Linked DNA regions of Homo sapiens: region 1 is linked to region 2. Evidence: promoter capture Hi-C in human tissues and cell types (Jung and others, 2019). All regions are on one chromosome and are shown on one strand. The core of a region is centred on a gene start or on the middle of the fragment in contact, and the rest is flanking DNA. Distances in the headings are between cores, read along the strand shown. Region 1 overlaps LOC105377085 (a long non-coding RNA gene). Region 2 holds the start of TUSC2 (tumor suppressor 2, mitochondrial calcium regulator).

The links. The method cuts DNA at HindIII sites, captures the fragments that hold promoters and counts their contacts. A contact is called where the count stands out against the background at its distance.
Region 1: a contact is called between a fragment that was not itself captured here and the fragment with the promoter of TUSC2 in region 2, in 1 of the 25 tissues and cell types used here (dorsolateral prefrontal cortex).

What each region holds. Positions count from the first base shown.
Region 1 is chr3:51,526,265-51,532,161 of GRCh38, reverse strand. All of the region lies in intron 1 of LOC105377085 (a long non-coding RNA gene), which reads right to left. Among named protein-coding and RNA genes, the nearest start is that of RAD54L2, 9.5 kb to the left of the region's middle. The HindIII fragment of the contact is 4,554 bases long and covers 1-3,778 here.
Region 2 is chr3:50,324,334-50,330,417 of GRCh38, reverse strand. TUSC2 (tumor suppressor 2, mitochondrial calcium regulator) reads left to right here and starts at 2,195. Exons shown (of 3, transcript NM_007275.3): 1 at 2,195-2,464; 2 at 3,941-4,061; 3 at 4,232-5,509. The coding sequence starts at 2,319. The coding sequence ends at 4,297. RASSF1 (Ras association domain family member 1) reads left to right here. Exons shown (of 6, transcript NM_007182.5): 6 at 1-630. RefSeq lists enhancers at 1,951-2,060, 5,979-6,084 and a silencer at 5,581-5,770. The HindIII fragment of the contact is 5,713 bases long and covers 1-3,293 here.

The DNA.
Region 1 (5,897 bases), core at 252-2,751, 1.2 Mb before region 2:
AGGGCCTCCATCCTCACCAGACTCTGAGCCACTCAGGAATTACCTCCCCTCCGTAATCCAGACACGGTCTTTCATCCATGAAGCAGCAAATGAGGCAATGCCTCTCCCTGTCGACACCTCCTTGTCCTCTCAACATAACTGTCTTGCAGGAACAGACGTGTTCATCTGCCAACCTGACCTTCACAAAAAGCTACGACCAAAGTGGACAGGCCCCTACACTGTGATACTCAGCACACCAGCTGCAGTGAGAGTCCAAAGATTCCCCAACTGGATCCATCGCACCAGGGTCAAGCTCATCCCCAAGGCTACGTCTTCCTCCAAAACATTAGCAGCTAAGTGGTCGTCAAGCACAATTTCTCCTACCAAGCTTAAATTAACCAAAAAACTTTCTTAAAACCAAAAACCCCCTAGAAAGTGTAAACATGGAGAAGACTAATTACCTGCTTCCAGAAATGGCCTGTATCTACCCAACCGCTTGCTGTGCCTCACTTCCAACCACAAGTCTTCTTTTTTTTTTTTTTTTTTTGAGATGGAGTCTCGCCCTGTTGCCCAGGCTGGAATGCAGTGATGCTAACTCGGCTCACTGCAACCTCCGCCTCCCAGGTTCAAGCAATTCTCCTTCCTCAGCCTCCCGAGTAGCTGGGATTACAGATGTGTGCCACCACTCCAGGCTAATTTTTTGTATCTTTAGTAGAGATGGAGTTTCACCATGTAGGCCAGCCTGGTCTGGAACTCCTGACCTCATGATCCACCCACCTCGGCCTCCCAAAGTGGTGAGATTACAGGTATGAGCCACTGTGCCTGGCCCCAACCAAAAGTCTTAATACGGAAATATCCCTCATCACAGTCTTAATGCTGTCAGTAGACGCCCTGCTGTCCACAGCAGCCCTCCAAGCTGCCATGAGTGTTATCAGTCTTTCTACTATGGAGGAAAAATCCAACAGTCCTTTACTTACCATACCCATATAGAAAGATCCTGTTATGGAGTCTTAGTCAAAGAATGTGTTGAATCAGGGAAAAGTTATTATAAAGTAAAGCATCTAGGAGTATCTGGCAGTCGTAATGGGGCTATATGCCATTATGCCATAATGGGGCTATATGCCGCAAAGGGAAGCAGTGGCTTTGTTTCACCAAAACTGGACAACGCGGAGTAAACACTCAAGTGCTAGAGGACATAAAGAGAGAACAGATTATAGCCAAAGCAAAAGCTAAAGCCGACAGCTACCCCCCAAAACCACCCATAGTATTTCCACCCCTTTATAAAAAACTACCAGGAGATGTATCCCTTCCCAAGCCAGGAAAAAAACCTGTTTGTAGATCTAGGAGAACGCATCGCACTTACCATGAATGTGTCCAATTGCTGGGTATGCAGGGGAGCCCGTATGAGTGAACAGTGGCCGTGGTATGTCATAGACATTCCCCCTTACTTACTAATATCCCAAAACTACAGCCTCACTTTCACTCCTCAGGAATGCCCGCAGTCCTGAACACTTACCAACCCAGTAAGAGGGATGGTGTGCATATCCCACAAGTGGACTAGTAAAACCCGTTGCACCATAGGTGAAAGCACTTGTCACCAAACCCTAACAGTCAACACCTCCACAGCCAAGTGGTGGCCAAGGTTACCGCACAGAGCCTGGTCTCCCTCTAACTTAAGCTATCTCAATTGTGTTCCATCAAAAAGAGCCTGGAACTGTACAAATACCACTAACCCTTATGCCACATACTCCCGCCTAAGTGCACTATGGAACAATCCTACGAACACCAGCCTACAATGGATTGCCCCTGATGGATTCTTTTGGGTATGTGGAACCCAAGCTTACTCATGGCTACCTTATCACTGGCAAGGTACTTGCTTCCTAGGCACAATTAAACCTGACTACTGACTTCGCGAATGCACAAGGTGGGAGTGTAGTGAAAGGAAGAAGACTTGCTGAAGAAGTCCTTTTAAGGGTGAGGAGGACTCGGATTGAAGAATAGCATGACAAAAGGCATGGATGTAGGAAAGACAAGAGAGAGGTAGTCCTAGCTGGACTTGAGGGTTTGTCTGGGAAGGCCAGGATGTACCATCCCTAGTGATTCCCAACAGCTCAGTCAGTAGCCACTCTCAAGTCACTTTAGAGCCAAAGTTTTGGTGGCAGGGTCAGCTTTCATGATAAAAATACTCAGCAAACTAGTAAAGAAAGAAAGTTGGTCAGGCACACTGGCTTACACCTGTAATCCCAGCACTTTGGGAGGCCGAGGTGGGCAGATCACTTGATGTCAGGAGTTCAAGACCAGCCTGGCCAACACGGTGAAACCCCATCTCTACCAAAAATATAAAAAATTAGCTAGGCATGGTGGTGCACGCCAGTAATCCCAGCTACTCATGAGGCTGAGGCAGGAGAATCGCTTGAACCCGGGAGGTGGAGGTTGCAGTGAGCTGACATTGTGCCACTGCACTCTGGCCTGGGCAACAGAGCGAGACTCCCTCTCAGAAAAAAAAAAAAGAAAGAAAGAAAGTTATTTAATCTAAAAAGGGCATTTATATAAAACCCACAGCTAAATCATACTCAATGGTGAAATACTGAAACCTTTGTACCCTTTCTCCATAAGACCAGAATGTATTGCAAGTTCTAGCCAGAGCAATTAGGCAAGAAAAAAAAGGCATCTAAATTGGCCTTTTCATGAGAAAAGCACTCAACAAACTAGGAATAGAAGAAACATAATAAAGATTGTATATGAAAAATTCATAACTAATATCATGTTTAAGGATAAAACTTGAAACTGTTTCCTCTAAGATCAGAAACAAGACAAGGATGCCCACTTTTTTTTTTTTTTTTTTTTTGGAGACGAAGTCTCACTCTTGTTGCCCAGGCTGGAGTGCAATGGCACAATCTCAGCTCACTGCAACCTCCACCTCCCGGGTTCAAGTGATTCTCCTGCCTCAGCCTCCTGAGTAGCCGGGATTATAGGCGCCTGCCACCACGCCCAGCTAATTTTTGTATTTTCATTAGAGACAGGGCTTCCCTGGCCAGGATGGTCTTGAACTCCTGACCTCAGGTGATCCAGCCCACCTCGGACTCCCAAAGTGCTGGGATTACAGGCGTGAGCCACCACGCCCAGCCTAGATGCCCACTTTTGCTGCTTCTTTTTAACATAGTTCTGGAAATCCTAGCCAGAGCAATTAGGCAAGAAAAAGAAATATAACAAATCCAAATTGGAAAGGAAAAAGTAAAATTATCTCTATTTTCAGATGGCCAATGATTTTTTATTTATTTCTTTATTTATTAGAGACAGAGTCTCACTTTGTTGCCCAGGCTAGAGTGCAGTGATGCAATCATAGCTAAGTGCAGCCTGGGACTCCAGGAAACTCAAGCAGTCCTCTTGCCTCAGCCTCCAGAGTAGCTGGGACTATAGGTATATCAGGTTTTTTTTTTTTTGTTTTGTTTTTTTTGTAGAGAAAGGGTCTCACTATGTGCCCAGGCTGGTCTCAGAACTCCCAGCCTCAAGTGATATTCTTGCCTTGCCTCACCCTTCCAAAGTGCTGGGACTACAGGCATGAGCCACCACACCCAGCCAGCTGACATGATTTTATATGTAGAAAACCTACAGAGTCTACCAAAAAAAAAAATATGTGTCAGAACTAATAAAGGCAGCAAGGTTGCAGAATACAAAATCAACACACAGGCTGGGTGCAGTGGCTCAAGTCTGTAATCTCAGCACTTTGGGAGGCCAAGGCGGGTAGATCACCTGAGGTCAGGAGTTTAAGACCAGCCTGGCCAACAAGGTGAAACCCCGTCTCTACTAAAAATACAAAAAATTAGCCAGCCATGGTGGCGGACGCCTGTAATCCCAGCTATTTGGGAGGCTGAGGTAGCAGAATTGCTTGAACCCAGGAGGCAGTGGCTGCCGTGAGCCGAGATTGCCCATTGCACTCCAGCCTGGGCAACAAGAGCGAAACTCTGTCTCAAAACAAAAACAAAATCAACTCACAAAAATCAGTTGAAGCCAGGTTCAGTGGCACACGTCCATAATCCCTCAAACTCATGAGGCTGAGGCAGGAGGATTGCCTGAGACCAGGAGTTCATGTTCAGCCTGGACACAACAATGAGACACTGTCTCTAAAAAATAATTAAAAAAAACAACTTAAAAACTCAGTTGAATTTTTGTACACTAACAACGAACAATTCAAAGGAAATTAAGAAAATAGGCCAGGCATAGTGGCTTGCACCTGTAATCCCAGCACACTGGGAGGCCAAGGCAGGCAGATCACTTGAGGTCAGGAGTTGGAGACCGGCCTGGGTAACATGTTGAAACCCTGTCTCTACTAAAAATACAAAAATTAGCCAAGCATGGTGGCAGGCACCTGTAATCCTAGCTACTCAGGAGGCTGAGGCAGGAGAATCACTTGAACCCGGGAGGCAGAGGTTGCAGTGAGCTGAGATTGACCCATTGTACTCCAGCCTGGGTGACAGGGTGAGTCTCCATATCAAAAAAAAAAAAAAAAAAAAAAAGAGAGAGAAAAAGAAAGAAAATAATTCCATTTGCAATAGCATCAAAAAGAACAAACTAGGCTAGGCATGGTGGCTCATGCCTGATTTTGGGAGGCCAAGGCAGGAGAATTGATTGAGGTGAGGAGTTTGAGACCAGCCTGGGCAACATAGCGAGACCCTGTCTCCATGAAAATATTTAAAAAGTAGCCAAGTGGCAAATGTCTATAATCTTAGCTAGTCAGCTTCTCGGGAGACTGAGGTGAGAGGATCGCTTGAGCCCCAGAGTGAGCTATGGCCATGCCAGTGCACTCCAGCCTGGGCAAAGAAGTAAAACCCTATTGGCCGGGTGCAGTGGCTCACGCCTGTAGTCCCAGCACTTTGGGAGGCAGAGGTGGGCAGATCACGAGGTCAGGAGTTCGAGACCAGCCTGACCAACATGGTGAAACCCCATCTCTACTAAATACAAAAATTAGCCGGGCATGGTGGCACACGCCTATAATCCCAGCTACTCAGGAGCTGAGGCAGGAGAATTGCTTGAACCTGGGAGGCAGAAGTTGCAGTGAGCAAAGATTGCGCCATCGCACTCCAGCCTGGGCGACAGAGCAAGACTCCATCTCAAAAAAAAAAAAAAAAAAAAAAGAAGTAAGACCCTATTGCAAAAAGAAAAAAATACTTAGGAATAAACTTAACTAAGGAGACAAAAGACTTGTATACAGAAAACTATAAAACTGCTGAAATAAAGACACAAATAAAAATCCTGTGTTCATGGATTGAAAGACTTGATGTTATTAAGATGGCAATATTACCAAAAGTGATCAACAGATTCAATGCAATCCCTATCAAATTCCAATAACATTTTTTGCAGAAATAGAAAAACCCATCCAAAAATTCATGTGAACTCTCCAGAGATCCCCAAATACCCAAAACAATCTTGAAAATGAAGAACAATGTTGGAGATCCCACACTTGCTGATTTCAAAACTAACTATAAAGCTACAGTAATTAAAAATGTGTGGTACTGGCACAAAGAACACCTTATAGACTAATGAAATGGAATAGAGATCCCAGAAGTAAATCCTTCCATATATGGTCAAAAGACAGTTTTTTCAACCAGTGTTGCTGGGAAAATTGGCTATCCTCATACAAAAGAATGCAGTTGGACCCCCAGCTTACACTATATACAAAAATTAAGTAAAAATGCATAAAAACCTAAACGTAAGAGTGAAAACTGTAAAACTCTTGGAAGAAAATATAGAAGGGAAAGCTTCGGGATATTGATTTGGCAATGATTTCTTGGAAATGACAACAAAAATACAAGCAACAAAATAAAATAGATAAGTTGGACTTCATCATTAAAAATTTGTGTGCATCAAAGGACACTATTAACAGAGTGAAAAAGCAACCTATGGAATGGGAGAAAATA
Region 2 (6,084 bases), core at 946-3,445:
ACCTGTGGGTGTAGCCAGGTATGGCTCTGCACCCCTCTGCCCTCATTACTGGGCCTTAGTGGGCCAGGGCTGCCCTGAGAAGCTGCTCCAGGCCTGCAGCAGGAGTGGTGCAGACAGAAGTCTCCTCAATTTTTGTCTCAGAAGTGAAAATCTTGGAGACCCTGCAAACAGAACAGGGTCATGTTTGCAGGGGTGACGGCCCTCATCTATGAGGAAAGGTTTTGGATCTTGAATGTGGTCTCAGGATATCCTTATCAGAGCTAAGGGTGGGTGCTCAGAATAAGGCAGGCATTGAGGAAGAGTCTTGGTTTCTCTCTACAGTGCCAACTCCTCACACACCCTGAGGTCAGGGAGTGCTGGCTCACAGTACAGCATGTGCCTTAATGCTTCATATGAGGAGGATGTCCCTGGGCCAGGGTCTGTGTGAATGTGGGCACTGGCCCAGGTTCATACCTTATTTGCTAATCAAAGCCAGGGTCTCTCCCTCAGGTGTTTTTTATGAAGTGCGTGAATGTATGTAATGTGTGGTGGCCTCAGCTGAATGCCTCCTGTGGGGAAAGGGGTTGGGGTGACAGTCATCATCAGGGCCTGGGGCCTGAGAGAATTGGCTCAATAAAGATTTCAAGATCCTCCTGCTGTTGGAATCTTTTATACATATAAAGTTTTTGTAGAGACATGAGTCTCTCTGTGTTGCCCAGGATCCTCCCAACTTGGCCTCCCAAAGTGTTGGGATTACAGGTGTGAGCCACCCTGCCCAGCCTGGACTCTTTATTATTATAGGCGCAGAGCTGCAGTTGCCCCTCATGGTGCCAGAAGTTGCCAAGGGTGATGGACAGGCTCCCAGGTGTCTTGCAAAGTCACCATGGACCAATTTGTGAAGATGTAGTATGCATACATACTTGGTCATCACTCAGCTCCCTGGGGCTCAGGTTGTGGTGGAGACAAAAATGGACTGCAGTTAGAACTTAGGGAAACTGGCTGGGCATAGTGGCTCACACCTGTAATCCCAACACTTTGGTTGGGCTAGGTGGGCAGATCACTTGAGGCCAGGAGTTCGAGGCCAGCCTGGCCAGCATGGCGAAACCCCATCTCTACCAAAAATACAAAAAAAATTTAGCTGGGCGTGGTGGTGGGCGCTTGTAGTCCCAGCTACTCAGAAGGCTGAGGCAGGAGAATCGCTTGAACCCGGCAGGCAGAGGTTGCAGTGAGTGGAGATCACACCACTGCACTCCGATAGAGCAAGACTCCAACTCAAAAAAAAAAAAAACGGCCGGGCGCAGTGGCTCAGGCCTGTAATCCCAGCACTTTGGGAGGCCAAGGCGGGTGGATCACCTGAGGTCCGGAGTTCAAGACTGCCTGACCAACATGGTGAAACCCCGTCTCTACTAGAAATACAAAAAAATTAGCCGGCATGGTGGCAGATGCCTGTAATCCCAAGTACTCGGGAGGCTGAGGCAGGAGAATCGCTTGAACCCTGGAGGCAGAGGCTGCAGTGAGCCGAGATCGTGCCACTGCACATTATCCTGGGCGACAAGAGTGAAACTCCATCTCAAAAAAAAAAAAAAACAAAACCATCCCTTCAACACACACACACCACGCTCTGGGAGAAGGTGTGGCATAACTCCTTCACCAAATACAGAGCTGCCACCGTGGACCAGACACTGCTCGTGATACCGAGGGTATAGCTGTTAACAATTCTTGCTTTCATTAAGCATGGACTCTGCTGGGTTTGAAAACACTGAATTCGAAGTTCTTCAGAACTGAATGTAACTATGTGAATCTGGCCAGTTCCTTAATTTTCTTTCAACTTGGTTAGTTCACATAAGCGTGGCAATCGCAAAAATACAGCTGTGAAAATAGAAGCCAGATGGGCACCCGGCGGTCTGGCCTTAGGCCCTGAAGTGCAGGTTTGAGGATTGGTGCTTGCGAAGTCCTGCTAGGCCTGAACTCAGGTGTTGGGGGACGTCAGAGCCGCCAAATACACCCAAAAGACCGGGAGGACTCACGGCCACCACTTTCCTCGGTGGGAGCTGTCCCAGCTGGTCAGATCGCGCTTGCTGGGACCTGGGATCTCGCAACGCATGCTGGGATGCCCAGCATCTAAGGGCGCCCATTGGTCCCGCCCCCACGACTTGAGCAACAGCCAATCAGAGGTGGCAGCGTGCGGAAGCGGAAGTGAGGTTTCCGTGGAGACAGCCGAGCCTGCGGAAGGCGGCGGCGGCGGCACCTGCGATCAGCGGCTGGGGCAGGTTATGGTAGTGCGGACTGCGGTGTGAGCAGAGCGGCCACGGGGCCCGCCATGCGCCGGCGGCCCTGACATGGGCGCCAGCGGGTCCAAAGCTCGGGGCCTGTGGCCCTTCGCCTCGGCGGCCGGAGGCGGCGGCTCAGAGGCAGCAGGAGCTGAGCAAGCTTTGGTGCGGCCTCGGGGCCGAGCTGTGCCCCCCTTCGTATTCACGCGCCGCGGGTAAGGGCATGGGTTCCACCCTGGCGGGGGGAACAGGCGGGCGGCCAGGCGTCCCGCGCCACGGGGGAACTTCCACCGCTGTACCCCACTACAGCCAAGCCAGGACGACCCCCATATTTTGAGCCTCATTGGAGCTGGGGGTGGAGAAAGCCGGGCAGTGGTCTCCTGGCGGCCTGGCCACTCTGAAAGTCTCCCTAGGGAAGAGTGGGCCTGAGGCTTGTCACTGGTCGGACCTTCCGCACGGTAAAGCTAAGCTAGGGCCTCCATAAGACCTCCATAAGATCTCTTCCTTTCATCCCTTCCGGCTCAGCCTGCATACTGAAGGGTCCTAGCCTCCCTTTCCCCCCCAGTTATTCCAAGGGGATAATAACCCTCTGTTTAGGCTGCTTTTCCTGACAGTAGTGGGGCTGAACCTTTGAGCGTAGTGGCTGGGAAAGCAGGGATAGGCCTCAGTATTGGGGGTGAGGCTGAGGAAAAAAGACCCTCACCCAGTTATGTTCTCCAGATCCAGAGCGCTGACCTACCCACCCAACCCCCAGCCCAGTCTCCCAGAGGCCCGCACAAGAGTACCAGATTGGCTTGGCTCTAGTGGGCTCCTGGAGATGGGCGCTCCCTGTGCTAGAGATTTGGCTGTAGACACCAGGAAGACCCAACAGTGGCAATTCACCAGCCACCTGGGGTGTGGGGTCAGGGGAGACGCAGCCTTCATTCCTTTGTGCTTCTTCCTAGCTTAGGCTTCTGCTATTTCAGTCTTTGACACTGGGCCAGCAGCATCTTCTGGAGTGAGACCAACATGCCCAGGCCACCACCCTGCCCACTCTAGAAGTCCTGGGTGAAGGCAAAGTCCTGATATTAGAATGGCTGCCCTTGCTGAACAAATCAAGGATGAGAACTGGCCTTGGTGGCTGCCTGGATGGTGTGCTCTGGTGTGGGCTCTCTTCTTGGGGGTCTGACATAGTAGCACTGCCCACCCATCACCTCACTTCCCACTTTCTTCTAGTAGACCCCAAACCCCAGGCAAAGGATTCTCCAGGCAGGCCAGGCACCGTGGCTCACGCCTGTAATCCTAACACTTTGGGAGATGAAGACGAGTGGATTGCCTGAGTTCAGGAGTTCGAGACCAGCCAGAGCAACATGGCAAAACCCCGTCTCTACTAAAATACAAAAAATTAGCAGGGTGTGGTGGTGCATGTCTGTAGTCCCAGCTACTTGGGAGGCTGAGGCAGGAGAATTGCTTGAACCCAGGAGGCAGAGGTTGCAGCAAGCTGAGATCGCGCCACTGCACCTCCAGCCTGGGCAACAGAGTGAGATTCTGTCTCGAAAAATTTTTTTTAAAAAAAGGATTCTCCAGGCATATTATCCTCTTTTCTTCCCACTTGGGGTTGGGAAGACCACAGACTTCCCCGTGACCTGTGACATTTGCCATGCCCAGGTGTGGGGCTCCAGCCCAGCCTGTTTCCTTCTCCCTCTACACAGCTCTATGTTCTATGATGAGGATGGGGATCTGGCTCACGAGTTCTATGAGGAGACAATCGTCACCAAGAACGGGCAGAAGCGGGCCAAGCTGAGGCGAGTGCATAAGAATCTGATTCCTCAGGTGAGGGGCTGGGCAGCGGTCACAGAGCCTACACTAAGCGTGTGGAGGTGGACCCAGATGGGATCTGTTGTCATGGTGGGGGCTTTTGCGGGGGGATCTGGGAGGAACAAGGAAGCTTCCTGAAGTAGAGGCCCTGAGCTGACCCTTACTAGCCTCTGTTTCCATGGCAGGGCATCGTGAAGCTGGATCACCCCCGCATCCACGTGGATTTCCCTGTGATCCTCTATGAGGTGTGACCCTGGGAGGTGGCAGACAGAAGCACCCCCTGCCCCGGCAAGAAACTCCCAGGCTCAATCAAGGTGTGGCTTCCATTGAGGAGCCCAGGCTGGGGCCACAACCCTGAATAAACTCTGTTGGCCCATAACCTTCAGCTGTGAGCGGGTCGGTCCCACAGTATTGGTTGGGTGTTGGTTTGTGTGTGGACAAGAGGTGGTTGGTGGGTGGTGAAGGCTAATGGCAGAGTTAGCACCCCACTCTCCCAAGCCACCCCTGCAAGCAGCACAGCAGGGCATATACCAGTCAGGAATGCCCGTTACCTGGTTCCTTGCCTGGTCTGCTTTCTTCCAAGTTTGCCTGGGGCCTAGCCCTGCTAGAGGCTACAGCACTTTACAAGCAAGGTATGCTTTCTTCCAGCCCCTAGGCTGTGGGCACTGTATACAAGTAGGAACTTCCTTTCCTTCACTTCCCTTTTAACCCCTAGTCAGAGCATTTCAGCCGTTTGCTACCTCGATTCCTCCTGTGTTGGACAGAGGCTGGGGGCAGTGCCAGCCTGATTCTTCCGACCTACCTGCCATTTGTTCCCGCCTTCAGATGGATGGACAGTTTGCTGGCTATTGATAGGAGTGGGGACTGGGTGGGGGCTTCTCCCTCTACCCAGGGCTGGGCTGATCCCCCTACTGCAACTAACTGTTGCCCCCCAACCCCGAACCCCCAGTTGAGGAGTTGAGAGAGTGCAGGCTGGGGTCAGGACAGGCTGCGGATGCTTGTGCCTATGGGGAGTTACTCCAACCCACCTATTCTGTCTAATCTCCATGGCTTTGCACCAAATCCTCCACCCCTCCAATTGGGAGGGGACTGTTCACCACCTTGTGGTAAGGGACAACACCCTAAGGCTGGTGCCAGTAGTTATGAGTAGCCTACCACCCCCTCCCTTACAGTAACCCCCACCCCTTCAGGATCAGTCAAGGGAAAGCACTAGAACCCCTGGGTAGGGAAAGAAAGGAGGGAAAAACCATAAAAGGAATACTTATAATGTGAAGGTTTGTAAATAGTCCATGATGATGTCGTGGCAGAGTCTGATTTCTATATAGAGGTGACTTTTTTTTTAAGTACTGTGCAAGCTCTGTGCTTCTATAATGTGGGAAATGGCTTGGGGAGGATGGCCCCTAGCTTAGGAAGACTGTTGTGTTATTTGTTCAATTTCAATAAAATGATTTGTAGATCCTGCACATGAGAGTGGCATCCTGTGGGGGCTCTGACACCCAGTGTCTAGACTACCACCTGGGTTCAATAGGTAGGCCTGGCACAGGACTCTGGCAGGCCCCCTATGACCAGCAAAGCCCAAGAGTAAGTCTGAGCCCAGCCTGTGGCCATCCCAACTGTGGCCAGCAGGTGGCTGTGTGTTCACACAGACCTCACTGCAGGCCCCCTGCAGGGTGGGAGGGCACTCATTTATCTGTTGTGATCCATGTGGTGGTGACCCTTGGAATCAGAAGGCCCTGGGATACTTCACTAAGGATTGGCCCCACCTGCCTGATCTAAGGTGAGAGAGTGTGACCCAAGATAGTTCTGGAATATCTGTCTTAGCTGTAGCATCGCCAGCTGATCCTAAGTGGGGTCATGGCCTGACCCCCATGGACCTCAAAGGCCCAGCTTTAATGGACAGCAGCCAGATAGGTGTCCCCACGCCTTTGGCCTACTGCCAGGCTCAGCAACCCAAACTCATGTGCCTCCTCTGAGGCCTGCCTGCGGACACCATGGGAGAATGAGCTCAGGCTGCTGTTTCAGCAAGCAAGGCTCGGCC